Regions from separate parts of the Homo sapiens genome. Here all the other regions are linked to region 4. The links are contacts of gene promoters, found by promoter capture Hi-C in human tissues and cell types (Jung and others, 2019). All regions are on one chromosome and are shown on one strand. Each heading gives the region's core, a stretch centred on a gene start or on the middle of the fragment in contact. The rest is flanking DNA. Distances are from core to core; before and after follow the strand shown. Region 1 has its middle 19 kb from the start of IGLL1. Region 2 holds the start of LOC124900476 (endogenous retrovirus group K member 5 Gag polyprotein-like). Region 3 has its middle 12 kb from the start of LL22NC03-102D1.18. Region 4 holds the start of RAB36 (RAB36, member RAS oncogene family). Region 5 has its middle 27 kb from the start of GGTLC2. Region 6 has its middle 3.5 kb from the start of LINC02557. Region 7 overlaps LL22NC03-102D1.18 (a long non-coding RNA gene).

The links. The method cuts DNA at HindIII sites, captures the fragments that hold promoters and counts their contacts. A contact is called where the count stands out against the background at its distance.
Region 1: a fragment that was not itself captured here is called in contact with the fragment with the promoter of RAB36 in region 4 in 3 of the 25 tissues and cell types used here (IMR-90 fibroblasts, heart right ventricle and lymphoblastoid cells).
Region 2: a fragment that was not itself captured here is called in contact with the fragment with the promoter of RAB36 in region 4 in 4 of the 25 tissues and cell types used here (bladder, dorsolateral prefrontal cortex, hippocampus and 1 more).
Region 3: a fragment that was not itself captured here is called in contact with the fragment with the promoter of RAB36 in region 4 in 1 of the 25 tissues and cell types used here (IMR-90 fibroblasts).
Region 5: a contact is called between a fragment that was not itself captured here and the fragment with the promoter of RAB36 in region 4, in 1 of the 25 tissues and cell types used here (lymphoblastoid cells).
Region 6: a fragment that was not itself captured here is called in contact with the fragment with the promoter of RAB36 in region 4 in 1 of the 25 tissues and cell types used here (dorsolateral prefrontal cortex).
Region 7: a fragment that was not itself captured here is called in contact with the fragment with the promoter of RAB36 in region 4 in 1 of the 25 tissues and cell types used here (stomach).

What each region holds. Positions count from the first base shown.
Region 1 is chr22:23,559,792-23,563,332 of GRCh38, forward strand. No RefSeq gene overlaps it. Among named protein-coding and RNA genes, the nearest start is that of IGLL1, 19 kb to the right of the region's middle. The HindIII fragment of the contact is 9,054 bases long and covers 1-3,541 here.
Region 2 is chr22:23,533,935-23,537,435 of GRCh38, forward strand. LOC124900476 (endogenous retrovirus group K member 5 Gag polyprotein-like) reads left to right here and starts at 2,947. Exons shown (of 2, transcript XM_047441690.1): 1 at 2,947-3,202. RefSeq lists enhancers at 669-1,284, 1,285-1,901, 2,517-3,133. The HindIII fragment of the contact is 4,075 bases long and covers 1-3,501 here.
Region 3 is chr22:22,722,266-22,725,863 of GRCh38, forward strand. It overlaps IGL. Among named protein-coding and RNA genes, the nearest start is that of LL22NC03-102D1.18, 12 kb to the left of the region's middle. The HindIII fragment of the contact is 4,264 bases long and covers 1-3,598 here.
Region 4 is chr22:23,143,734-23,147,326 of GRCh38, forward strand. It overlaps RAB36 (RAB36, member RAS oncogene family), which reads left to right and starts at 1,744. Exons shown (of 11, transcript NM_004914.5): 1 at 1,744-1,818; 2 at 2,872-2,952. The coding sequence starts at 2,884. It also overlaps a transcript of RSPH14 not described here. RefSeq lists a silencer at 1,497-1,566. The HindIII fragment of the contact is 15,551 bases long and covers 1-3,593 here.
Region 5 is chr22:22,669,590-22,673,074 of GRCh38, forward strand. It overlaps IGL. Among named protein-coding and RNA genes, the nearest start is that of GGTLC2, 27 kb to the left of the region's middle. The HindIII fragment of the contact is 4,680 bases long and covers 1-3,485 here.
Region 6 is chr22:23,515,116-23,518,636 of GRCh38, forward strand. No RefSeq gene overlaps it. Among named protein-coding and RNA genes, the nearest start is that of LINC02557, 3.5 kb to the left of the region's middle. The HindIII fragment of the contact is 4,353 bases long and covers 1-3,521 here.
Region 7 is chr22:22,701,869-22,705,595 of GRCh38, forward strand. All of the region lies in intron 2 of LL22NC03-102D1.18 (a long non-coding RNA gene), which reads right to left. It also overlaps IGL and IGLV3-22. Among named protein-coding and RNA genes, the nearest start is that of LL22NC03-102D1.18, 7.9 kb to the right of the region's middle. The HindIII fragment of the contact is 8,195 bases long and covers 1-3,727 here.

The sequences.
Region 1 (3,541 bases), core at 630-3,129, 420 kb after region 4:
CTAAGAAAGATACTGTTAAGAGAATGAACTATGAAAAAATATTTGCACATCACTTATCTGACAAAAGTCTTGTATCCAGAAATTATAAAGAACTCTAATAACTCAACAGTTAAAAAAAAACTAATTAAAAGTGGAAAAAAGACTCATACAGACACTCCCTCAGAGAAGATACAGGGATGACAACTGAACCTATAAAAAGGTGCTCAACCATTATTAGCCACCAAGGAAATAAAAGTCAAAATTACAATGAGATATCACTCCCCGCATCCTTAAATGGCTAAAAAAAAAATACTGATAATTCCAAAAGCTAACAAGTCTGCAGAGCAACTTAAACTCTTGTGCATTGCTGCTGAGGATGCAAAATGATACAGCCACTTTGGAAAACAGTTTGGCATGTTCTTAAAAAGTGAACCATATTCATATCGTATGATGTAGCCAACCTACTCCTGGGCATTTATCCCAGAGAAATGAAAACTTAGGTCCATGCAAAGACACATACATGAATGTTCATAGAAGCTTTATTTGTCATAGCCTAGAAACAACCCAAATAGATAAACAAACTGTGGTCCATCCATACCATGGACTATCACTCAGTAATAAAGAAGAGCCAAGAATTGATCCAGGCAACACCTTGGACAGAGCTCAAAATGATTATTCTGAGTGAAAAAAAAAAAGCCAATCTTTTTTTTTTTTTTTTTTTTTTTTATTGATCATTCTTGGGTGTTTCTCACAGAGGGGGATTTGGCAGGGTCATAGGACAATAGTGGAGGGAGGGTCAGCAGATAAACAAGTGAACAAAGGTCTCTGGTTTTCCTAGGCAGAGGACCCTGCGGCCTTCCGCAGTGTTTGTGTCCCTGGGTACTTGAGATTAGGGAGTGGTGATGACTCTCAAGGAGCATGCTGCCTTCAAGCGTCTGTTTAACAAAGCACATCTTGCACCGCCCTTAATCCATTTAACCCTGAGTGGACACAGCACATGTTTCAGAGAGCACAGGGTTGGGGGTAAGGTCACAGATCAACAGGATCACAAGGCAGAAGAATTTTTCTTAGTACAGAACAAAATGAAAAGTCTCCCGTGTCTACCTCTTTCTACACAGACACGGCAACCATCCGATTTCTCAATCCTTTCCCCGCCTTTCCCCCCTTTCTATTCCACAAAACCACCATTGTCATCATGGCCCGTTCTCAATGAGCTGTTGGGTACACCTCCCAGACGGGGTGGTGGCCGGGCAGAGGGGCTCCTCACTTCCCAGTAGGGGCGGACGGGCAGAGGCGCCCCTCACCTCCCGGACGGGGCGGCTGGCCGGGCGGGGGGCTGACCCCCCCACCTCCCTCCCGGACGGGGCAGCTGGCCGGGCGGGGGGCTCACACCCCCACCTCCCTCCCGGACGGGGCGGCTGGCTGGGCAGGGGGCTGAACCCCCCACCTCCCTCCCGGACGGGGCGGCTGGCTGGGCCGGGGGCTGACCCCCACACCTCCCTCCCAGACGGGGCGGCTGGCTGGGCGCGGGGCTGACCCCCCCACCTCCCTCAAAAGCCAATCTTAAAAGATCACACACTACACAATTCCATTTATATGACACACTCCAAAAGACAAAATATAGAGATGGACATCAGTGGATGCCAGGGGTTAGGGGTGAGGCCAGGGCGTGGCTACAAAAAGATAGGAAGAGGAAGCCTTTTCAGATGATAGAACTGTTCTGGATGCTGATAGTGTGATGGTTACACAAATTGATGCTTGTCATAAAATTCATAGAACTGTACTCCAAAAGGAATTTAATCAAAATGCAACTTGGAAAATAATGATGTAGCGGCCAGGCACGGTGGCTCACACCTGTAATCCCAGCACTTTGGGAGGCCGAGGCAGGTGAATCACCTGAGGTCAGGAGCTTGAGATCAGCCTGGCCAACAGGGTGAAACCCTGTCTTTACTAAAAATACAAAATTAGCCTGGTGTGGTGGTGCACACCTCTAATTCCAGCTACTTGGGAGGCTGAGGCATGAGAATGGCTTGAAACTGGGAGGCAAAGGTTGCAGTGAGCTGAGATTGCACCATTGCACTCCAGCCTGGCTGACAATGCAAGAGTCTGTCCAAAAAAAAAAAAAAAAGATGTGGTGACTCGAGTTCTCAGGTAGTTTCTTCCCGCAACCCACACAGGCCATGGTTCTTCCCCTATAGCACCTTGGAAGGGATTAGAAAAGGGCACCACCCCATGTGCAGGACGCAGCCTGTGCCAGGGCCCTCAGCCTGGCAAATGGAGGACTGGCTGAATTGCAGCTCCACTTGTGCAGTGAGCAACCTACACGACTGTCCATGTTGGGTCCTGGAGCCCCCATCTTTTCTTCTCAGGTTCTGTTATTCCTCAATGGATGGAGTTTTGACAAGCAGTGCCCAGGGAGTAGGGATGAGGTGGCCTGTGCATTAGACTGGACTAACCTGGCCAAGGCTTCTTGCTAATGGCAGCAAATGCACTTAGTGCTGAGGTTGCAGGCTGGTGCTTTGGGGACCTGGAGCTTAATGGCTCACCTGCCAGGGAGGAAGAAGGATGGTCGGACAGCCAGACGCATAGCCAGGATCAGATGGATGGAGGGAGCAGGAGGACTTGCCCCAGCCTGGAAACCCCCCTTCCTCCGAGAAGTGGGGGTGGAGAGTGAGGGGATGTGCAGGAAGGACGCTGCCAAGGAGACTGGCTTTGCCTGAGCCTGTCCCATGGCACATTTTGTCTGCTGATTAATGGTGAAGGTATCATTCCTCTAGAGGGGTAGGTTTCAGGTGGGCCCAGCCACAACCTGCTCTGCCCCAGGGAGCTGGGGATGAAAATCAGGATCCCAGCTCTTTTTTTTTTTTTTTCAGATGGAGTTTCACTGGTTGCCCAGGCTGGAATGCAATGGCGCGATCTCAGCTCACTGCAACCTCTGCCTCCCAGGTTCAAGTGATTCTCCTGCCTCAGCCTCCCGAGTAGCTGGGATTACAGGCGCCCGCCACCATGCTTGGCTAATTTTCATATTTTTAGTAGAGAAGAGGTTTTTCCATGTTGGCCACACTGGTCTCGAACTCCTGACTGCATGTGATCCATCCACCTCAGCCTCCCAAAGTGCTGGGATTACAGGTGTGAGCCACCATGCCCAGAGACCAGATGGTTGTTTTTGTTAGCTTGTTTTTCTTTTTTTTTGAGATGGAGTCTTGCTCTGTCACCCAGGCTGGAGTGCAGTGGTGCGATCTCGGCTCACTGCAACCTCCACCTCCCAGGTTCAAGCAACTCTCCTGCCTCAGCCTCCTGAGTAGCTGGGATTACAGGTGCCCACCACCACACCCAGCTAATTTTTTTGTATTTTTAGTAGAGACGGGGTTTCACTATGTTGGCCAGGCTGGTCTTGAACTCCTGACCTCAAGTGGTCTGCCCCTCCTTGGCCCCCTAAAGTGATGGGATGACAGGCGTGAGCCACCGCACAGGCCGACCAGAGGGTTTTGATCCTGAGGTGCCATGGTTAATTTTCTCTCAGTGGCCCCTGTCAGCAGGCACATTCTATAGTCACAGGAAT
Region 2 (3,501 bases), core at 771-3,270, 390 kb after region 4:
AGAGAACCTCAGAAACAGGGAGATCTCGAGAGCAGAGCTGTGAAGGGCAGGGCTGGGGAGGAGGGTGGGGAGATGAGGAAGGGAAGGCAGGAGGGAGAGGGGAGAGGGACGGAAGGAGAGAAGGACGGAAAGAGGGAGATAAGGAGCGGGAGGGACAAGGGAGGGAAGGGCAGGAAGAGGGCAGGACAGGGAGGAAGAAGGGAGGGAGGAAGGGCAGGAGAAAGGGGGGTGGGGGAGGGGTGGAAAAGTGTCCCTGGGGCTCTGAGGCACAGACCACCAAGGGACTGAGCACCTAAGCTGGTCTCCTCCCACCCCTTGCCCCCTCCCACCCCCTTGCTCCACTACTGGATCCTGGGGAGTCTGGCAGGGGCTGTCAGGGTTAAGCAGTGGGCTCCCCTTCCAGGCCTGCTCCAGACAGCAGCCCCCACCCTCCCTTTGTTCACGTCACTGGAAGGGTGGGCCTAGGCTGGGGCCTGGCTCCTTGGAGAAGACCCACCAGTGATCTAGCAGGGCCCAGAGCCAGGGCTGGGCCTGGACATTCCAAGTCAATTCAGGACTCAGAGCACCCCAGAGGGGAAGGGACCTGGGTTGTCCCCTGGAGTCACTAGCATCTGCGGCGAAACTCCCCCCGCCCCCACTGGTCTGCCCTGGATCCTAAGGGTAGAGGGACAGCGTGGCGGGAAGTAGCCCACTCCACCTGGGCAGGAACAAACCCACAGCCACCCGAGGAAGAGAGAATGCTGGCAGGATAGTCATGGAGCGGGGGCTCAGGAAGGCCTCTTTGAGGAGACAGTCTTAACACCTGAGAGCTGAGAAGAATTCAGCCTCACAAAACCCAGAGACGTGGCCCTCAAGAGGGAGATGGGGCTGGGAGACATGGTGGAGTGGCCAGGCCGGGAGTGGCTGCAGGGTTTGAGCCTGGGCCCAGCAGGTCTGGCAGGTCACCCCAGGGGTCTCCTGCTTGCTCCTGAGCCAGTGTCTGTGAGAGCTGGGTGGCAAGGCCAGCGGGAGGCTGAGGGACCCAGGGCCCGGGCATGTGGGAAGCGAGGGCGGCCTCTCCTTGGTTCCTCGGCAGCCTGGACCCTCACCCCCTGCAAGGTCCTGGTGGCCACCGCTTGCAGGGCCGTCCCTCTGGGAGTGGGCAGGGGGGCTGGGGGACACTGGGAAGACCTTCACCCCTCCGAAGGCAAGGCCTGGTCACGTTCATCCTCCATCCCTTTCCCGCCTGGACTCCTCCTGTGTGCTGGGAGCACTTGGCCGTGTGAGAACAGGGCAGCATGGTGGACGGGCCAGCATGGCACGGCGAGGTCTGAGCCCCTGGCTACTCTCCCCAGCCCTGAGAACTCAGGCTGCTCCGTAAGCTCTGTGGGCCTCAGGCTCCTGGTCGCTAGAATGGAGCCACAGGCAGGCTACCCAGAAGTGAGATGCCTGCCAAAAAGCCGTGTGCCCAGCCCAGAGCCAAGACTTGGTCCATCGAGCCCCAGCTCAAAAGCCCTATGAGAGGCCGGCCCTGAGCACCGTCCCTGTCCCTGTGTGCCACTTCAGTCACAATTCAGCAGCTCGCAGCCGCCCACTGAGGCTGAGCCTCTGTTCAAATTTGCCTCGATGTTTGCTGGTCACTGATTCAGGTCTTCGGGCCTCAGCTTCCTTACCCACAAACTGGGGGCGGCCTCTGGGGGCTGTTGTAAGGGGAGCTGGAGGCCACAGGCTCTGGCCTGGAGCACTTCGCTCTCCACCACTGTCTTCTCCTGACGTCTGTGTTTCCTCGTATCTCATGGTACCGCGTCTCCTCCGCAGGACCTGTGTGTCCTGTGTGACGCTGTGTGCCACCCACCACATCTTCAGCCCCTGAGAAAGATTCTGGTGGTGGAGGCTGTTGAGTAAATGCTCACTTGAGCTTCTCCCACTACCTTGGAGCCCCTCTTCTATTTGTCTCCAAATTCTCTTTGCTGACAGAGTGCACAGTTCAAAACCCCACACTGGGATGAACTAGAGGACGCCCAGGTCCAGCTCAGGAGCAGCTTCATGTCCCCTCCACTGCTGTACCTCTAGGGCCTCCCTCTGCCACTGCCATCTACTAGGACATTCTTCCTGGGCCCCTGTGGGACAAGGACTGCCTTTGGCTAGTGTGGGGAAAAGAAAGAGAGATCAGACTGTTACTGTGTCTATGTAGAAAGAAATAGACATAAGAGACTCCATTTTGTTCTGTACTAAGAAAAATTCTTCTGCTTTGAGATGCTGTTAATCTGTAACCCTAGCCCCAACCCTGTGCTCACAGAAACAGGTGCTGTGTTGACTCAAGGTTTAATGGATTCAGGGCTGTGCAGGATGTGCTTTGTTAAACAAATGCTTGAAGGCAGCAAGCTTGTTAAGAGTCATCACCACTCCCTAATCTCAAGTAAGCAGGGACACAAACACTGCGGAAGGCCGCAGGGACCTCTGCCTAGGAAAGCCAGGTGTTGTCCAAGGTTTCTCCCCATGTGACAGTCTGAAATATGGCCTCTTGGGAAGGGAAAGACCTGACTGTCCCCTGGCCCGACACCCGTAAAGGGTCTGTGCTGAGGATTAGTAAAAGAGGAAGGAAGGCCTCTTTGCAGTTGAGATAAGAGGAAGGCATCTGTCTCCTGCTCATCCCTGGGCAATGGAATGTCTTGGTGTAAAGCCTGATTGTATATGCCATCTACTGAGATAGGAGAAAACTGCCTTAGGGCTGGAGGTGGGACATGCTGGCGGCAATACTGCTCTTTAAGGCATTGAGATGTTTATGTATATGCACATCAAAAGCACAGCACTTTTTTCTTTACCTTGTTTATGATGCAGAGACATTTGTTCACATGTTTTCCTGCTGGCCCTCTCCCCACTATTACCCTATTGTCCTGCCACATCCCCCTCTCCGAGATGGTAGAGATAATGATCAATAAATACTGAGGGAACTCAGAGACCGGTGCGGCGCGGGTCCTCCATATGCTGAGCGCCGGTCCCCTGGGCCCACTTTTCTTTCTCTATACTTTGTCTCTGTTGTCTTTCTTTTCTCAAGTCTCTCGTTCCACCTGAGGAGAAATGCCCACAGCTGTGGAGGCGCAGGCCACTCCATCTGGTGCCCAACGTGGATGCTTTTCTCTAGGGTGAAGGGACTCTCGAGTGTGGTCATTGAGGACAAGTCAACGAGAGATTCCCGAGTACGTCTACAGTGAGCCTTGTGGTAAGCTTGGGCGCTCGGAAGAAGCCAGGGTTAATGGGGCAAACTAAAAGTAAAGTCTCTCATTCCACCTGATGAGAAACACCCAGAGGTGTGGAGGGGCAGGCCACCCCTTCAGGGTAGGGTCCCCTCCATGCAGACCATAGAGCACAGGTGTGCCCCAAAGAGGAGCAGAGAGAAGGAGGGAGAGGGCCCACGAGAGACTTGGAAATGAATGGCAGGATTTTAGGCGCTGGACTTGGGTTCGGGGCACCTGGCCTTTCCTTGTGTATTTCTCCTACTGTCTGCCTAACTATTTAATA
Region 3 (3,598 bases), core at 785-3,284, 420 kb before region 4:
TGCTGCTCAGGTCTCAACTATGAAAGTGTAAAAGCAAACAGAAAACTCAAACTGTTTTTCTGAACAGTAAAGTAACTTTACTGAATTCAACAATAAAAGACAGAAATAGAGAATGAACTGCAAAAGAATTCTCAACCCAGCAGGAAAAATGCACAATGCCTTCATCCTGTCAATATTTCCTGCAAGGTAACCAGAAAATATATGCTATATCAAACAGAGAAGTGAATCAATCCCAAATGGCAATAAAATTGCACACATGATAGACCTTGTAGGCAAGGATATGAAAGAAATTCTTATAACTCTATTCTATTCTACTTGTTCTTGAGGATATAAGATTGAAAAATCATATTAAGTGGATACATAAAACATATAAAGACAGACGCAAGTTATACTCTTATAAATGATCCATAATATGTCTGCAATAAAAAATACACTGAATGAGACTGATTGCAGATTGGATTCTGTGAAAGAATAGATGAGTGAACTTGAAGATATGGCAATGGCAGCTATTCAAGACGAAGCACAAAAGCGTAAACAGAGTATCAGTGAGTTTTAGGACATCTTCAACTGCCTAAATTGGTATAATGAAAGTCATTAAAGGAGGTAAGATTGGACAGGGAAGAGAAAAGGCAGAAAAACAATTTAAAGGAACAATGACCAAAATTTCCCAAATTTTGTGAAAACTAGAAACCTCCTATTCCAAAAAGTTTAACATGTCCCAAAGACACACACACACACACACACACACACAGAGAGAGAGAGAGAGAGATAGAGAGAGAGAGAGAAAGAGAGAAAGGGAGAGAGAGAGATACAGGTGAACAACAAAATGACAAGAACAAATTTGGTTTTTAAAAATTTTTTTAATTTTAGTGGCTTCATAGTAGGCATATATTTTTATTGGGTACACGAGATGTTTCAAAACAGGCATGCAATGTGAAATAGCCACATTATGGAAAATTCGGTATTCATTCACTCAAGCACTTATCCTTTGTAGTATAAACTATTCAATTACACTCTTTTAGCTTTATAAAATGTACAGTTAAGTTGTTATTGACTATAGTCATCCTGTTGTGCTGTCAAATAGTAGGCCTTATTGATTATTTCTAACTAGTTTTTTCTTACCCAGTAACCATCCCCAGGTAATAGTTGATTTCTTATTAGAAGTAATGCAAGCCTAAATCAGTGGAGTTACATTTAGAAAATATTAAATGAAGAAACTTACTACCCAAAGCAATCTACAAACTCAATGCAATTCCTATCAAAATACCAATGATATTATTCACAGAAATAAAAAATCCTCTAAAATTGGTATAAAACCCTAAAAGACGCTGAATAGCCAAAGCAATACTGAGCAAAAAGAACACAGCTGAAGATATCACACTACTAGAATTAAAATATGCTACAAACTATAGTAACCAAAACAGGAAGTTATTGGCATGCAATCAGACACTGAGACCAATATAACAAAATAGAAAACCCGTAAATAAATCCATATATCTATATATAGCTGACTTTCAACAAAGATGTCAAGAATGTACACTGAGAAAATGGCACAATTTTCAATAAGTGGTGCTGAGAAAACTGGATACCCATCTACAGAACAATGAAACTAGACACTTATCCTCTCCACAAAAAAATATCAACTAAAAATGGATTAAAGGCCCAAATATAACACCCCAAACTATAAAACTACTAGAAGGGAACTTAACATAGGGGAAGAACAAATTCTTTAGGACATTGTTCTAGATAAAAAATTATATGGCCAAGACTTCAAAAGCACAGGCAACAACAAATAATAGAGATATGGGACATCATTAAACTACAAAGTTCCTGAAAAGCAAAGGAAACAATCAACAGAGTAAAGACAACATGTAGAATGAGAGAAAATATTTGCAAACTGTTCACTTGACAAGGGCCTAACATTCAGTGTATGAAAATTTTAAAAAAACTGAAATAACTCATTAGCATAAAAAAACTAATAATATCATTAAAAATGGGCCAAGAATTTGAAGAGACTTTTCTCAATAGAAGATATACAAATGGCCAACAGGCATACGAGAAAAATGTTGAACATCACTAATTAGTGAGGGAATGAGAATCAAAACCCCAGTGAGATACAATCTCACCCTAGCTGGAATGGCTATGATCAAAAAGACAAAAAATGCAAAGCTGGTGAAGGTAGGTGACTTCACATTTCTCTAGTCCGATTCTCTGGGAACAATGAGAGTGCTCTGTCTTTGCTCTCCCTCTAGTAACTATTTTTCACACGCAAAAATATGGACCCTAGTGGGAAATAATGCCTAAGACCACCAACACCTTAATCATTTGTTCATCACACTAGAAATGAAACTGTTTTCCAAATAATATTAACATCTATCTGTGTCTATCGCCATTGTGTCAATGTCTGTGTGATCCTATAACATTTAGAAGGCCTAGAAGAATGCCCTTGCTTTTTGCAATATGAAAATGGCCGATATCATAGATGATATAGATATAGATAGATAGGGGGTTGTATTTTGAAATGTATTTCTCTAAAGGACTTCTTTCACTTCAAATTTGAAATTATTCTTGTTTTAAATGTCACAAATGATAAACCTTATAGAATGATAACACAATTGTATGTGTTATAAAGTCACAGGGTCTATCAAATGATGAACCAATCATTCGGTGTTGAGGTTAGTAGTATTTTTTTTATTTCGATTCTCACTAAATGAGAACACGTTTTGTATTGAGGGGCCATGCCCTAACCATACCACATCGTGGGGTTGCTCAGAGACTGTGAGGTTCTGCCCACACTAAGCCAGAAGGAGAATTTTATTCCTAAGCCAGGATGAGAATTTTATTCCTCACACTGCTCTCTGCACTTGTTTGTATCCCATAATATCCCCCAAAAGTGAGCATGAGAAGTTCATTTTTTAAGCTGCTTGTTCATTCTCTTACATTTAATACATGTACCAAAAATTGTCTTCATTTTTAAAATAAAATGTTATGCTATCTTGTAATCTATAACCCTATAGAATAATCTTGATCCATACACTTTTGCTATCACAAGCAGAACAAGATCCACTTCCTCTCTCTGGGATAAATCCCATGACCGCTGCTCTTTGAGCATTATTTTTCTTAAGTTATTTTTTAAACAGAAATTTATCTGACTTACCTTAACCAAATGTCTTTTCAAAGTAACCGCATTTCTTTTAAGTGAAAAATTAAATAGTTACCTTCTGTTATCAAGAATTATCTGAATACAAAATATTTATTGTTTCAACTTTAGAAGGAATGAAAAACATCTACAGGTTACTAATCTAAAAATGCAGGCTCTGGGTTTCTATGGTGTTAACATGTCTTCCAAATTTTAAGTAACAGGTATTTAAATAACATGAACTTTGTTTTCAAACTTAGAAAATGTTTCAACCTTTTGGCTGGGCATGGTGGCTCAAGTCTATAATCCCAGCAATTTGGAAGGACGAGCTGCGAGTTTTGTCTGATCCCAGGAGCTCAAGACCAGCCTGGGCAACATGATGAAACTCCATCTCTACCAAAAGTTATAAAACTTTGCCAGGCATGGTGGCACTGCCTGTAGTCCCATCTACTCAAGAGA
Region 4 (3,593 bases), core at 494-2,993:
TTGCTAATCTGCCCAGTGTCAGTTTGGTTTCTAGATCTAGGCAAAGAGCCCACTTAAGAGCTAAAGGAGGATTGGGGCCAGGTGTGCTGGCTTACGCCTGTAATCCCAACACTTTGGGAAGCCAAGGCCGGCGGATCACATGAGGCCAGGAGTTCAAAACCAGCCTGGCACACATGGCAAAACCCCATCTCTACTAAAAAAATTTAAAAATTAGCCAAGCATGGTTGGTGCGCACCTGTGGTCCCAGCTACTCGGGAGGCTGAGGCAGGAGAATCGCTTGAGCCGGGAGGCGGAGATTGCAGTGAGCCGAGATCACACTACTGCACTCCAGCCTGGGCGACAGAGTGAGACTCCATCTCAAAAAAAAAAAAAAAAAAAAAAAAAAAACAGCTAAAGGAGGAGTTCAGGGTGATCTCTAGCTCCTGCCAAATCCCCAAATCCAAATTAGTAAGTGACCCCACAGCTTAATCTTCCCTTCTCCTAAATCCCATTGGCACACTCCCTTCCCCTAATTCTCTATTTACTTCTCTGCTTCCCGCAGTGGACTCCAATTTCCCTGAGGGTGGACACCATGTCCGTTCTCTTTCCTTGTCTCCCCAGTGCTAGGCATATACCAGGAAGCTTTCAGTACATGTAGGACAAATGAATAGTTAATGGACTTGAATCAAGCTTTACAGTATAAAAGCACTTTCACCATCTCAGGTGATCCATTGAAATAGATAGTTGCGTTTATTTTATAGTTGAGTAAACTGAGGTGCGGAAGGTGGAACAACTCACCTAAGTTCACCCCCTAAGCCTCAACCTTAGCAGTGAAACTCACTAAAAGACATTAAACAGAGCCAGGTGTGGTGGCCCTTGCCTGTAGTCCCAAGGACTGGGGAGGCTGAGGCGGGAGGATTCCTTGAGCCTAGGAGTTCGAGTCCAGCCTGGACAACATAGCAAGACTCCATCTCTTTAAAAAAAAAAAAAAAAGACATCAAACACCAGCCTCCAGCACACTTAGCTTTGAATTGAAGATGACTGAGTTAGATCTGTGTACCAAGGCTTCCATATTGTGATGCAGAAAAGTTAAGGAGCTGAATTAAGTAGGTTCTCAAACTGAACCCCGGACTTCGAAGCTGGTTCCACGGTTTTATAAGGGCCACAAGAGGCCATCTAGCCCAAAACAGCTAACTTTCCAAACCGAAACTAGTTCAGAGGAAATCACTGACTCAGGTCAGCTTTTTATTAAGGAAATTAATTTTGTACCGTGAGCTCTAGAAGCCAGGCATATGATATTCAGACAGCACTGGATTCAGAACTATGCAGACTAAGGTCAGTAGATGGTAGGCAGGTCTATCTTCTGCAGCTGCAGGGTGCTTGACTCCAATTAAACATCAATACCACATCAGGAGCTCTTATGCCATAACCGCCCAACCTCTCCCAGCCGAGCTGATCACCAGAACCTGCGCGAATCTCTCCACGGTCAGCCCCACCCAGGGCTCAGGCTCCGCCCCCGGGCCTCCATAGCCCCGCCCACCGCCCACCCATCCAGCACCGCCCTTGTTGTCATGGTGATCTCCGGCTCTCCAGGGTGTCCAGGAGTCTCTCTGCTGCCAGCCCCGCCCAGACTCCAGGCAGGTTCTCGTTGCTATGGTGATCGCCGGTGCAAGCTGGATGCTTGGACGCGCCGCTGCCAGTCCAACGCAGACCCCGCCCACGACGTCGACGATTCGTGTAGCCCGCAGGTCCCGCGTGGCTCTCGTTGCCATGGTGATCGCCGCCGCTGGCTCAGGCGGACCAGGCCGCGCGGAGCCCCAGCTTTCACAGCCATCGCTGGTGAGTCAGCTCGCCCACTCTGTCCGACCCTCCCGGTCACCCAACCCCGTGCTGGCACATCCCGAGGCCAGGGCCGCGAGGGCACAGCGTCCGCGCCCACTTCCCGCCCCTATAACTTGAAAGCGGCCTGCGGCCCCGGGGCGTCCTCATTTCCGGAGCGCAAACTCTGGGCCAGGCCCGCGCTGGTTGTGGAGGAGAGCCAGGTCAGATGCGGGAAGACAACCGGACTCCGCCAGGACCACCCCAGCCCAGCCTGGAGAGGAGTCCGGACAGAAAAAGGAGACAGAGGGGCTGTTGAGGAGGCTCGAGGAGTCAGAGGCCTGGTGAAGTGAGGGTTTTCAGGGAAAAGGCCTAGTTGGCTGAAAGTTAAGGCCCCCAGGCCCACCTAGAGCCTTCGTCCTTTGCAGACTGGGAGCAGGAGACCCCTCCCCACTCTACTTCCACTGCCTGAGCTGTGCCATGCCTCACAGCCCAGTAAGGTAAGCTCAGAGGGGAGCTCCTCCTTGGTAGACACCTGTCAAGGGGAGACCCAGGTCTTCTGACTCCCAGGCAGGGTGGGGCAGGCCTGGTTCCCCCATACCATGCTGCCTGCTGTATGCAGATTGAGAGAAATGGCCTCTGCCCCATATTCCTGACAGAGAGGGAAGCCTGGATCTGGTTTTATTTATAATTCTTGAGACAAGGTCTTACTCTATCACCCAGGCTGGAGTGCAGTGGCACCTTCACGGTTCACTGCACCCTTGACCTCCCAGGCTCAAGCATTCCTCCCACCTTCCTCCCAAGTAGCTGGGACTGCAGGCACAGGCCACCATGCCCTGCTAATTTTTTTGGTTTTTTTTTGTAGAGACTGAGGTTTCACTTTGTTGCCCAGGCTGGTCTCAACCTCCTGGGCCCAAGTGATCCTCCCACCTTGGCCTCCCAAAGTGCTGGGATTACAGGCATGAGCCACTGCACCCAGCCTGGATCTGATGAAAAGTTAGGTGGAAACTCATGGGTGAATCCCCAGGTATTTGCACAGCTCCTTAACTGTCTTTCTCCTGGTTGGGTCCACAGGACTGTGGAAGAATGAGGTCCTCCCTGACACCTTTGGGGCCCCCTGTGAGCCGCGACCGTGTCATCGCCAGCTTCCCTAAGGTAGAGAGTCATTACGTCTGCAGTGCTCTCCTGGCCCTGCAGCCACATCAGCTCTCCCCACTCTACACTCATGCCTAGAAGTAAAGCAGGTGAATCAAGGAGGTCTGTCCATTGTCAGATTTACCTTGAGGAGCTGGGAGACTGGTCACTGACTGCCCAAGGTGGGACCGCAAGTTAATGGTGACACTGGGCAGCAGTGTGGCCTGGAGGTTATAAGGGCTGGGATTTTGCAGCCAGACAGTCCTTGATGTGAATCCTTCATTCTGATTCTGTCATTAAGCTGTGTGGCTGTGGGCAAATTACTCAACCTCTCAGAGCCACTGTTACATGAAGGTAATTCCTCTCATATTGGGTGCCTGGCTCATGGTATGCAGGAGCTCCCCTGCAGTCATAGTTGCTGTTGTTCTCATCATCGTTGTTGTTATCAAAACAGCATTCCAGTTCCATGACCCCAAATCCAGGGCTCTCTCCTCTTGCCATTCCGCCTCTATGAGCTTGAAAACTCACAGCTCTCTTGTGTCTGTATTAAAATCCAATATTAATTGCAGCAGGGAATACAAATTGAGTACAACCTCCATAGGGGGCAGTGGACAATATTTACCAATATAGAAGATGACCCTGCCCTCTAAGATCCAGCCATT
Region 5 (3,485 bases), core at 199-2,698, 470 kb before region 4:
ATTGCAATGAATTCTCCCTCTCAGAGTAGGATTGCAGGGAGTTCACAAATTAACAAACAAACCAAATACTGTCTAGAAGAAAGAGGATCAAAGAGGAGAGAGCTGCACAGGGAGCGCACTCTGGAGTCTGCAGATATTCATGAGCACCGATGAGCATGTGCATGGGAGGAAACCTTCTGTGATAGAGAAAATAACCATTCAAAGACATTTGAGGAAACACTCCATAGAGCTCACACACACATCCATGTGCACACACATGCACAATCAGAATAGTGCCTGTTCCTCCGCTCCATGAAGAAAGGCCCGAGTTAAAGTGGGTGAGATTTACCAGTGAGAAGAGCTTTGCCTCAGTACTGGGGAAAACATTGCCCTAGACAAAAGGCATCTCTGGTGTTAACTAAGAAAGTGTACGGCCCCTGTGCTGATGCCCATGTCAAAGACCATCACACGTATTTTAACCAACTAGCCCAGAGTTGTCACCAAGAGTTTGATCTTACAATAATTCTGCAATGAACATCCCTATTCAGACTCCTTGGAGTTCACCTATGAAGATTACCATAGAATAAATCTCTAGAAGTTGAATTGTTAGGTCAAAAAGAAGTACGTTTGTAATTTTCACTGATTATTCTCAGATTCCTATTCACGGGGGGGTTGTACCAATTTACAGTGCCAGCCATAAATCTTTGACGTGAGTATGCTGTTGAAAGTTTGGGTTTTTGCCAACATGGTAGATTAAAATTTTGTTGTCTTGTAACAGTGTTATTTTGGATTTCTCCTATTCTGCTTGAGGTTGAACATTTTCTCAAACATTTCAGGGCTCTTATATTTTAGGATTTAGTGAGCTTTTTTCTAAAATGGCCAGGTAAGGAGGGTTTTAGCCCCTGTGGGCCAAGAGTCAACTTTGACCATATTATGAGGGAACTTATAACTCCAGTTACAATGTAACCATTTAAAGCTATAAAAACCACTCTCAGCTCTGGGACCACACAAAACAGGTGGCAGGCCAGGGGTGGCCACAGGATGTGGTTTAATGGTCCCTGTTTTGTAGGGTCATTTGAAGTTTAAAAATTTCACCAGCATATATTTTAGGTGGAGATCTTTTTGTGGGTAATACTGTATTTCACCGCCTATAGTGGCCTGAGATTTCTCTCTAGATAAGAACACACTTTTCTTATTTTTTGGATGGATTTTGGGTCTATCTGTGATAGCCCTGTGTCATAAACTCATAACTTTTGTGTCCGTCCTTTTACTGTGATTTTTGGGAGTGTGACAGTATATCAGGAATACACTATCCAGGGTGGAAAATCAGAGAGAGGGGGAGGAGCAAGTGGGCAAGGAAGCTTGTACCAAAGCTGGAATATCCACTGCAGCAGGCTCAGAGAAAAGGGTCCTAATATCAGCATTTGACTGAAGCCAAAACCACAAGAGACCATAGAGGTTCTGAGGATGACAAATAAAAACATAGTTTAAGTTTTAATGCATTCATTATTTTTATAATCCACAAAAATTCTAAAACTCAGAATTTAACAATGGGATAAGGAAAAGAGTTTGAGATGTTAAACGATAAAGACCCCAAGGAAAGTTGCCAGGAAAAGAACAGGACCTTTTTGGTGGAACTATGTTTATGCTGTAAATTACCCTCTTCTATATGTCTATATATATATTTAGGTATAAGAGAACATCTCATGGAACACCCTTCTTCACCACAGTCAAAGATCACCCTCACCCAAGGAGGGAACCGAAAGGGAACGTCAATATGAGACAGAAAACATAATGCACTTTTGTATAAACATTAGGAGAGTCTCTATTTGCATATCAAATGTGGATGCTTAATGTTAACATTGGAAATAGTAGGTTAATATGCATGTGAGGTGAGTTTTCTTTTGACTATTTCTGTCTGTGATTTATCTTTCTTAATAGGGACATTTCTGCCCTTAGAACAACTTAACTTGTGATATTTTTTGTTCTATTATCTGTATCAGCTCTGTTTTTTTTTTTTCAAACAGTGGCAAAGATATCCCATGACTAATGATTAATAAATTCAATTAATGGGTATTTAAATTATTTCAAGAGTGGACAGTTGTGACTTCCCCACATCTAACTCACAGATGTCGCTGATGCTGACTCACTCTTCTCTTCCAATCATAGCAAATAAAGTGGGAGCTTTGACTTTTCTGAAGACCCAGATGACAACAGGAGAGAGGAGGTGAAACCCCCTAAAGCTGTTATCCTTTAAACCCTCAGGAGGAATCATCCTGGAGAAACACCCACACTTGAGTTGGATTATACCTAAATGAGAGTTTGGTCTTAGAGTTGGTGCTGAGTTAGTTCAGGATTTGGGTTGTTGGGATGGAGTGAATGCGCTTTACAAGTGAAAAATACATGAGTTTTTGGGTCCATAGGTTGGAGAGTTCTTGGCTGAATTGTGTCCCCCAGAGTTCATACAATGAAGCTCTAATGCACGGTGTGTGACTGAATTTGGAGAGAATCTTTAAAGAGGTGATTCAGTGAAAATGAAGTCATGAGGGTGGGTTCTTATCGAATCTGACTGGTGTTCTCGTGAGAAGAGAAAATTTGCACACACAAAAATGAGACACTCGAGATGAGCGTGCAGAGGAAAGACCGTGTGAGGACTCAGCAAGGAGGTAGCGACCCGCAAGCCAAGGAGAGAGGCCTCAGTGAAAACCAAACCTATAAACACTTTCATCTTGACTCCCCAGCTTCAGAACTGTGAGAAAATAAGTGTCTGCTCTTTAGGCCAGCAGGTCTTTGGTATCTCATTAAGGTAGCACTAGCAAATGAAAACAAAAGGGACCCCAAAGACCTTGGATGCGGGAGGAGGAGGAGATGGAGCAGGGTGCAGGAGGTGGGGCAGGGAGGGGCTGGAAGTTCAGGCTCTGAGGTCATCTCCTGGGTGGAATCCTGACTCCACTCACTGCTGTCTGGGGACTTGGGGAAAAACAATTAACCGCCCAATATTAATTCCATAGTAAAGATCGGGCCTTGAGCACAGGATTCCTCATCTTCCTTTTTTATATGATGAAAGTCTTCTTGAGGTCATGCTTGTAAAACACTCAGCAATGTATCTGGCATACACTATGGTCTCAGAAGTGGTTATTATGAATTTTCTAGTGATATGTAGAGGATGACATTGGTCCTGTGGGCAGAGGGGGCACTGTGGACCTTGGTTTGAGGACTCTGAAAGACACCAAGTCCGCTGGTAGTGCTCAAGAGCGAAGAGCATCACAGATGCTTCCTCCCAGGCCCCTTCTATTGGGTAAAATTTACTCTCCACTCCTGACACCCATCTGGTCCTTCTTCTGACCTTAGCACATTATCAGTTTGAAGACTTAAGGCTCAGGGCTCAGATGGGAGCTAGGACAGGCACACTGGGGAATGAGGAGTAGATTTGCATTCACTGCTCATCAGAGAGCCCACCCAACAAGGATACAAGAATAAAAGAAGTAGATTTGCATGAAGAGCCT
Region 6 (3,521 bases), core at 143-2,642, 370 kb after region 4:
GTCTTGCTCTGTCTCCCAGGCTGGAGTGCAGTGGTGCGATCTTGGCTCACTGCAAGCTCCGCCTCCCGGGTTCACACCATTCTCCTGCCTCAGCCTCCCCAGCAGCTGGGACTACGGGCACCTGCAACCACGCCTGGCTAATTTTTTTGTATTTTTAGTAGACACGGGGTTTCACTGTGTTAGCCAGGAAGGTCTCGATCTCCTGACCTCGTGATCCACCTGCCTCAGCCTCCCAAAGCGCTGGGATTACAGGCGTGAGCCACTGCGCCCGGCCAATCCTGCCTATTCTTTAGTGTTAAGGCCAGGAAATGCCTTAGTGTAGACTCCTCTCCCTGTGAATGTGGCAGACATTACTAATTGATCACAGCACTCTTTCCCTCTAAGCCGAGATGTAGTCTCAGAATCCTCAACACAGCCTCTATTAAATGGGGACCTGGCAATCGAGGTGACACCTACCTGTTCAACGCCCTCTCTGGAGGGCAGGATCCTGTCTTACCTAGTATCTTCCCCAGCACTTGGCTCAGGGCCCAACACGTGGCACAGATCACGGTAATAAATTTTTTTTTTTTTTGAGTTGGAGTGTTGCTCTATCGCCCAGGCTGCAGTGCAGTGGTGCGATCTCGGCTCACTGCAAGCTCCGCCTCCTGGGTTCACGCCATTCTCCTGCCTCAGCCTCCCAAATAGCTGGGACTACAGGCACCCGCCACCATGCCTGGCTAAGTTTTTGTATTTTTAGTAGAGATGGGGTTTCACCGTCTTAGCCGGGATGGTTTCGATCTGCTGACCTCATGATCCACCCGCCTCGGCCTCCCAAAGTGCTGGGATTACAGGCGTGAGCCACCTTACCTGGCCATTTTTTTTTTTTTTTTTGAGACAGAGTTTTGCTCTGGTTGCTCAGGCTGGAGTGCAATGGCACAATCTCAGCTCACTGCAACCTCGGCTTCCAGGGTTCAAGCGATTCTCCTGCCTCAGCCTCCCAAATAGCTGGGATTACAGGTGCCCGCCACCATGCCTGGCTAATTTTTGTATTTTTAGTAGAAACAGGGTTTCACCATGTTGGCCAGGCTGGTCTCGAACTCCTGACCTCAGGTGATCCGCCCGCCTCGGCCTCCCAAGGTGCTGAGATTACAGGTGTGAGCCACCATGCCCAGCCACAGTAATAAATTTTTATTGAGTGAGTGGGTGAACGAGTGGTAACCACCGAATGAACGATGCCTCCCAAAGCCAGTGGCTCTAACCAGCTTCTTTTGTAGCAACAATATGACAGCAATAATTATAACAGTAATGCCCCCAACAGCTGACATTTCCCGAGTCTCTAAGGTATTTCATCTGAGCTCTGGAATGCCATTTCCTCAGGGTCACACATCACAGGACAGAGCCAGACCCCGCCCCTGGCCTCTTGCTTCTGAGTCCAGTGCTCTGCCCCGGCCCCCACCTCTGCCAGGTCCCACCGCAGCTTGTCTGGGTCAATTGGAGCGGACCTGGACCTCAATCTGGGGAACCTGCAGGTGTTGGAGGCAGATCCCAGAGGCCGGGGTGGGAATGGGTGCTCGGGGGAGTAGTTAGTTGGGTTCTTACTCACCTGTTTGGGATTGTAGAAATACAGAATAGGAGACATCACAATGCACCACATTTACCATGACCTGACCCCCCTCCCCCCAAAATTCGTATGTCAAGACATAATCTGCGTCAAGCTTGGTGGCTCATGCCTGTAATCCCAGCACCTTGGGAGGCTGAGGCGGGTGGATCACCTGAGGTCAGGAGTTCCAGACCAGCCTGGCCAACATGGTGAAACCCCGTCTCTACAAAAAATGCAAAAATTAGCCAGGTGTGGTGGCACATACCTGTAATCTCAGCTACTCGGGAAGCTGAGGAGGGAGGATTGCTTGAACCTGGGAGGCCGAGACTGTAGTGAGTCAAGATGAGGTCACTGCACTGCAGCCTGGGTGACAGAGGGAGACCCTGTCTCAAAACAAACAAACAAAAACCAAACCAAACCAAACCAAAACAAAAAAACACCATTATCTGCAATGTGTATTAAAAGGTGAGGATTCTGGCCTGGGGCAATGGCTCACGCCTGTAATCCCAGCACTTTGGGAGGCCGAAGTGGGTGGATCACGAGGTCAGGAGATCAAGACCATCCTGGCTAACACGGTGAAACCCCATCTCTACTAAAAATACAAAAAATTAGCCAGGCATGGTGGGGGGGCGCCTGTAGTCCCAGCTACTGGGGAGGCTGAGGCAGGAGAATGGTGTGAACCCGGGAGGTGGAGCTTGCAGTGAGCTGAGATCGCGCCACTGCACTCCAGCCTGGGCAACAGAGTGAGACTCCGTCTCAAAAAAAAAAAAAAAAAAAAGAGGTGAGGCTTCTGGGAGGTGATTAGGTCATGAGGGCTCTATCCTCATGAATGGAATTCATGCTCTTAGGCAAGAGGCCTGGGGAGCCTGCTCACCCCTTCCACCACGTGAGGACAAGGCTATAAGGCATCTATGAGGAAACGGCCCTCATCAGACACCGAATCTGCAGGCACATTCATCTTGGATTTCCCAGCCTCCAGAACTGTGAACAATAAATTTGTTTATAAATAACCCAGTCTAAGGTATTTTGTCATAACAGCCGAATGGACAAGCACACCCTTTTTTGAATATGTAGAAGAGAGGTCCCCAGGGAGTGTGATCGGCCCAAGGTCACCTGGCGGCCTTGGCTGAGGAAGGTGTGCAGAGCCCAGTGTCAGAGCCCCTGAGATGCCCTCTCCTCTCCTAGGGCCCTGGGCACTTGGGGTTAGTTGTTTTGCATCCTTTTGAGAATGTGAGTCCCTCAGAGGGAGGAACCTGGGCACGTCACATAAGGCTTGGCTCAAGATAGGTGCTCAGTAAACACTGGATGGACAGATGGGCAGAAGGAAGGAGAGAATGAAAGGAGGAAAGGAGGGAAGGAATGGGTAGCTGAGTGGATTCATGGATGGGTGGATGCATGGCAGCACGGGAGGGAGGATGAGTGATTGGGAGGATGGATGGATGGATGGATGGATGGATGGATGGATGAAAGGAAGTAAGCCAACATGGATGGAATGAGTGATGGAATTGATTGTCCCCTGCACCTGGAGGCTTCCAGTGACTCAGCCACAGAGGTCAGGAAGCTGGAGACATGAGCAGGCGGCTCACCCCATGGTCCCCTCCCCCTCCCCACCTGATATTTTCATCAGGACACATCTTCTGCACCAGGCCCCTCAGCTCCTGCCCTGCAAAGCTGCAGATGCCTCTGCTGGCTTTATTAAGGCCCTATTAGCCCAGCAGCCCCAGGGAAGGCTAAAGATGCTGTCACTGCAGACACTGGTTTGGTAGCCTCAGAGGAGCTCAGTAGGGAGGGCCAGGAACCTAAGGTTACAGCGAGGTCTTTAGAGCTGCACAGGCCTGCCTGGTTTAATCCCAGTTCTTCTGCTAATTGGCTGTGTGGCCTTGGGCAACTTACTTCCCTTCTCGGAGTGGCGGCTTCTCCACCTATAAAACAGGGTCATTAA
Region 7 (3,727 bases), core at 673-3,172, 440 kb before region 4:
GCTTTCTGTTCCCCTGAGCCACTTAGTCTCTTTTGGCCTCAGTGTTACCTGCTGTGAAGTGAGGAGGCTTATACTGAACTGAGGAAGCTCTTTTCTTCATTCAAAATTAAAAGACAGAAACAATAAAGTCATGTGAATTAAAGCCTTCTAAGGGGATGTCATTTAATGGGCTCCAATGGGCTTCAGACATGGAACTTCTTGTCTTTCCTCTGCAGAGATTCCAAGAAAGGGACTCAAAAGGGCTTGCTTTCTGTATGATGGGAACAGTGATCTCCAGCTGAGTATAAGCAGGAGAGTCCTAGTTTCATCAGCAAGACAGACAAGGCTAGGGTAGAAATCCTCCTGGCACAAGCTCTGAGAGGTGTGGAATGAAATAAAGATAAACATGAAATTAATGTGCCTATGATGGTGATGTTAGCTCACAACTAAGCTGCAGAACCAGAAACCTGGTGATTGCAGTGAATCATAGCTGCTCTTACTGGGTGGGAGGTGCACCAGTTTGCTTCCTAAGTGCATAGAAAGCCTGGGTCCCTGTAGGATGGCATGCACATCTCTCTGGACTTTGAAAGTGTTGCAGAAGAGCTTCAGTTGACTCACTCTAATTAGACCTGACTGAACAAAACCATTAGAGGAGGGCATTTCAACCCTGAGACACTTCTATAGCAATTGCACCTGCCCCACCCCACTGAACTGCGTGTGTTACCTCTCTGTGCTGGGCTGGGCAGGGCAGATTGGGTCACACTGGCACAGAATGGGGCTGGACTCTCTGGTCCTCAACTTCTGAGGTGACAGGTGCTGTGGGGTCACCTGGAAGAAGAAAGCTCCTGGGCTGAGTCTCCTCCACCAGTTGGGGGCAGCAGAGCTGCAGCCAGGAGCAGTGAGGAGAGAGGCTGGGGCTGCCCAGCTGGGGCGAAGAGGAAGGCCAGCCTGGGGTTCAACAGGTGTCCAAGAGTCAGTCTTCAGACTGAAAATGAAGACAGTTCATCCTATCCCCTCGGGCTGCAGTGACCACGTTCTGAGGGTCAGATTCATACAGTGTCACCCAAGGACACCGACAGAAGCCCGGCACAGTGAAGGCCTCACCTGGGAAATGCAACTAGAAGAGGCTGGGCCCAGGTGTCAGCTTGGGCAGCTTCCTTAGGAAGGGGATTCCCTGGGAGAAGTCCTGAGGCCGAGGTGCTCTAGGAGGGGCACAATGTGAGGTGACAGGGCTCCCAGGGCCCAGGTTCTTCACCCAGGATGGCGGCCTGAGCCTCCTGCCACTCTCAGGGCCTTGTCCCTCCCTGTCCAGCAGTGTCCTGGGGAGCTGAGCCCTCTATCGTGGGCACTTCCAGATACACCCGACCCCTCCTGCCTCTGCCTTTCCTTCCAGCTCCAGGTGGACTCTGACTCAGGACGCAGCTCCTGTGCTCAGGGGAGATTCAGGTGGGTGGCGTGAAGCATTTTGGGGCCCTGGTCCCTGCATGAGGCATCACCAGCCTCCTTCAGGAGATGCTGTCCAGAGGAACAGGGCTTCTCACCTGCCTCAGGCCACAGCTCTCACCACGGGGCTGTCCTTTGATCAGTGGCAGGATCTGCATGGCTGGAGGGACTACTGACCACATGCTCTCTGGAGCTCATGTCTTGTGTGGAGACCATGACCTGGGGACCCTCAGAAAGACCAAGCAGCCTAAAGTTAGATTTTCAGTCCAGTGTGATTCTCTGGTTCTTTTCGCAAGTTTACGTAAAACGTTGATGAGAAAAAGTGAATAAATAAAGGAAGAGTTGAGGATGGCAATTGCTGGTCTACTGTGGGGCTGGGGGATACCATGGAAAGAGCAGCACCACATGTCAAATGAGACTAGAGATTGGGATGCATCCGAAATATGTGTGGTTGCTCAAATGACAAAACTCTTCCAACTGCAATGATTCATAAGTGTCCTACAGACACAGTACATCATGTACATAACATTACCAGGATGGGGCCAAGTGACTCGGGGGTATCCGGAGCAGGGATGAAAGAGGAGAAAGATGATGCATCTTTGGTGTACTTGCTGCTGAGTCAGGCGTCATCAGTGATTTCTCAACAGGGCCCAGCTCAGCCCCAGGCCAGGCTCCTGGAAGGTCCATAGTCCTGCTCAATGCAGCCCAGGACAGGCCACATGACACAGAGGTTTGAGACAGGGACCATGTTGTCAATCCCCAGGACGGTGACTGTGATCACAGGCCTTGGAGGCCAAGGCTGATTTTCTGACTGGAGAAGCAGACGAAGGAAGCTGGGGATTCACCCCTTCATTTTAAGTTTCTCATGCTGCCCCCAGAGCTGGCTTGAGGGATATCCCGCCATGAGGAGTCCCAGAGAAGTAAATTTGCATAAACACCAAGGATGCACTGCCCCAGTGGGCCTGAGAGGAAATAAGAGAGGCCTGGGAAGCCCAGCTGTGCTGTGGGCTCAGGAGGCAGAGCTGTGGGTGTCTCACCATGGCATGGGCCACACTCCTGCTCCCACTCCTCAACCTCTACACAGGTGCTGCCCCCAGACCCTGCCCCAGGCTCAGCCCTCCTAAGCCCCTGGTCTTACCCTGAACCCTGAGCTCAGCCCAGGCATAGCCTCAGGGCGATACTACTGGAATGGGTTTGTTATCTTCAAGCCCCCTCTCTTGTCCTCTCTTGCAGGCTCTGTTGCCTCCTATGAGCTGACACAGCTACCCTCGGTGTCAGTGTCCCCAGGACAGACAGCCAGGATCACCTGCTCTGGAGATGTACTGGGGGAAAATTATGCTGACTGGTACCAGCAGAAGCCAGGCCAGGCCCCTGAGTTGGTGATATACGAAGATAGTGAGCGGTACCCTGGAATCCCTGAACGATTCTCTGGGTCCACCTCAGGGAACACGACCACCCTGACCATCAGCAGGGTCCTGACCGAAGACGAGGCTGACTATTACTGTTTGTCTGGGGATGAGGACAATCCCTCAGTGACACAGGCAGATGGGGAAGTGAGACACAAACTCCTTTTTCATCTGTGTTGTGTTCTTCCTCCAGCACCAGGAAGACTGTGGACCAAGCAATGAGCAGGTCTGGCCAAGTTCTACTGGATCTGAGACCTCCAGGCCATCCTTTTTTCCAGCTGTCCAGGTTGGCTCTGCAGAGGGTGGAGCAGGAGTGGATTTAAGGCTGCTATAATCAGAATTTATGGTGTTTTGGGGCCTCATGAGTGACTTGGGGAAATAAGAACTGGATGGAAGATGAAAGAGATGTAGAGAACCATCACTTGACCTTAGATTTCCATACGATGGTGATTGGGTCACTCCTTCTTCAAAATATCCTACATCAGTCCCGAAAAATACCCACCTCAGCTCAACACCTGAGCTTCCAGGCTTCCATGGCAGCCTGGGATTTTGAACAGGAAAAGCCAAGGAGGGGACACTGTGGCATCTGCCTCAATACCCTTTTCTGAGCTCACCCAACCTCAACTGCTGGGAGCTTCTAGGAGCTCAGAGCTGTGCCCTCACTGGGAAGTGCTATTAGCTCCAAAGAAAACTTCCTTCCTCATATTTAGGCCCAGTTTTGAGAGTTTTGGTTTGATGACTGCCTGAGCCAAGAACCCAAGGCCCTGTCCTAATAGAGGATGACACTGAAAGGCCTTCCAGATCCAGACATCCCAGTATGGATGCCTGAGGCCTCAGTTGCAACCCTATTGTGGGTCAGGGTCTCCTTCTGGTGGGCGATGCCTCCCTCACTCCTTCCA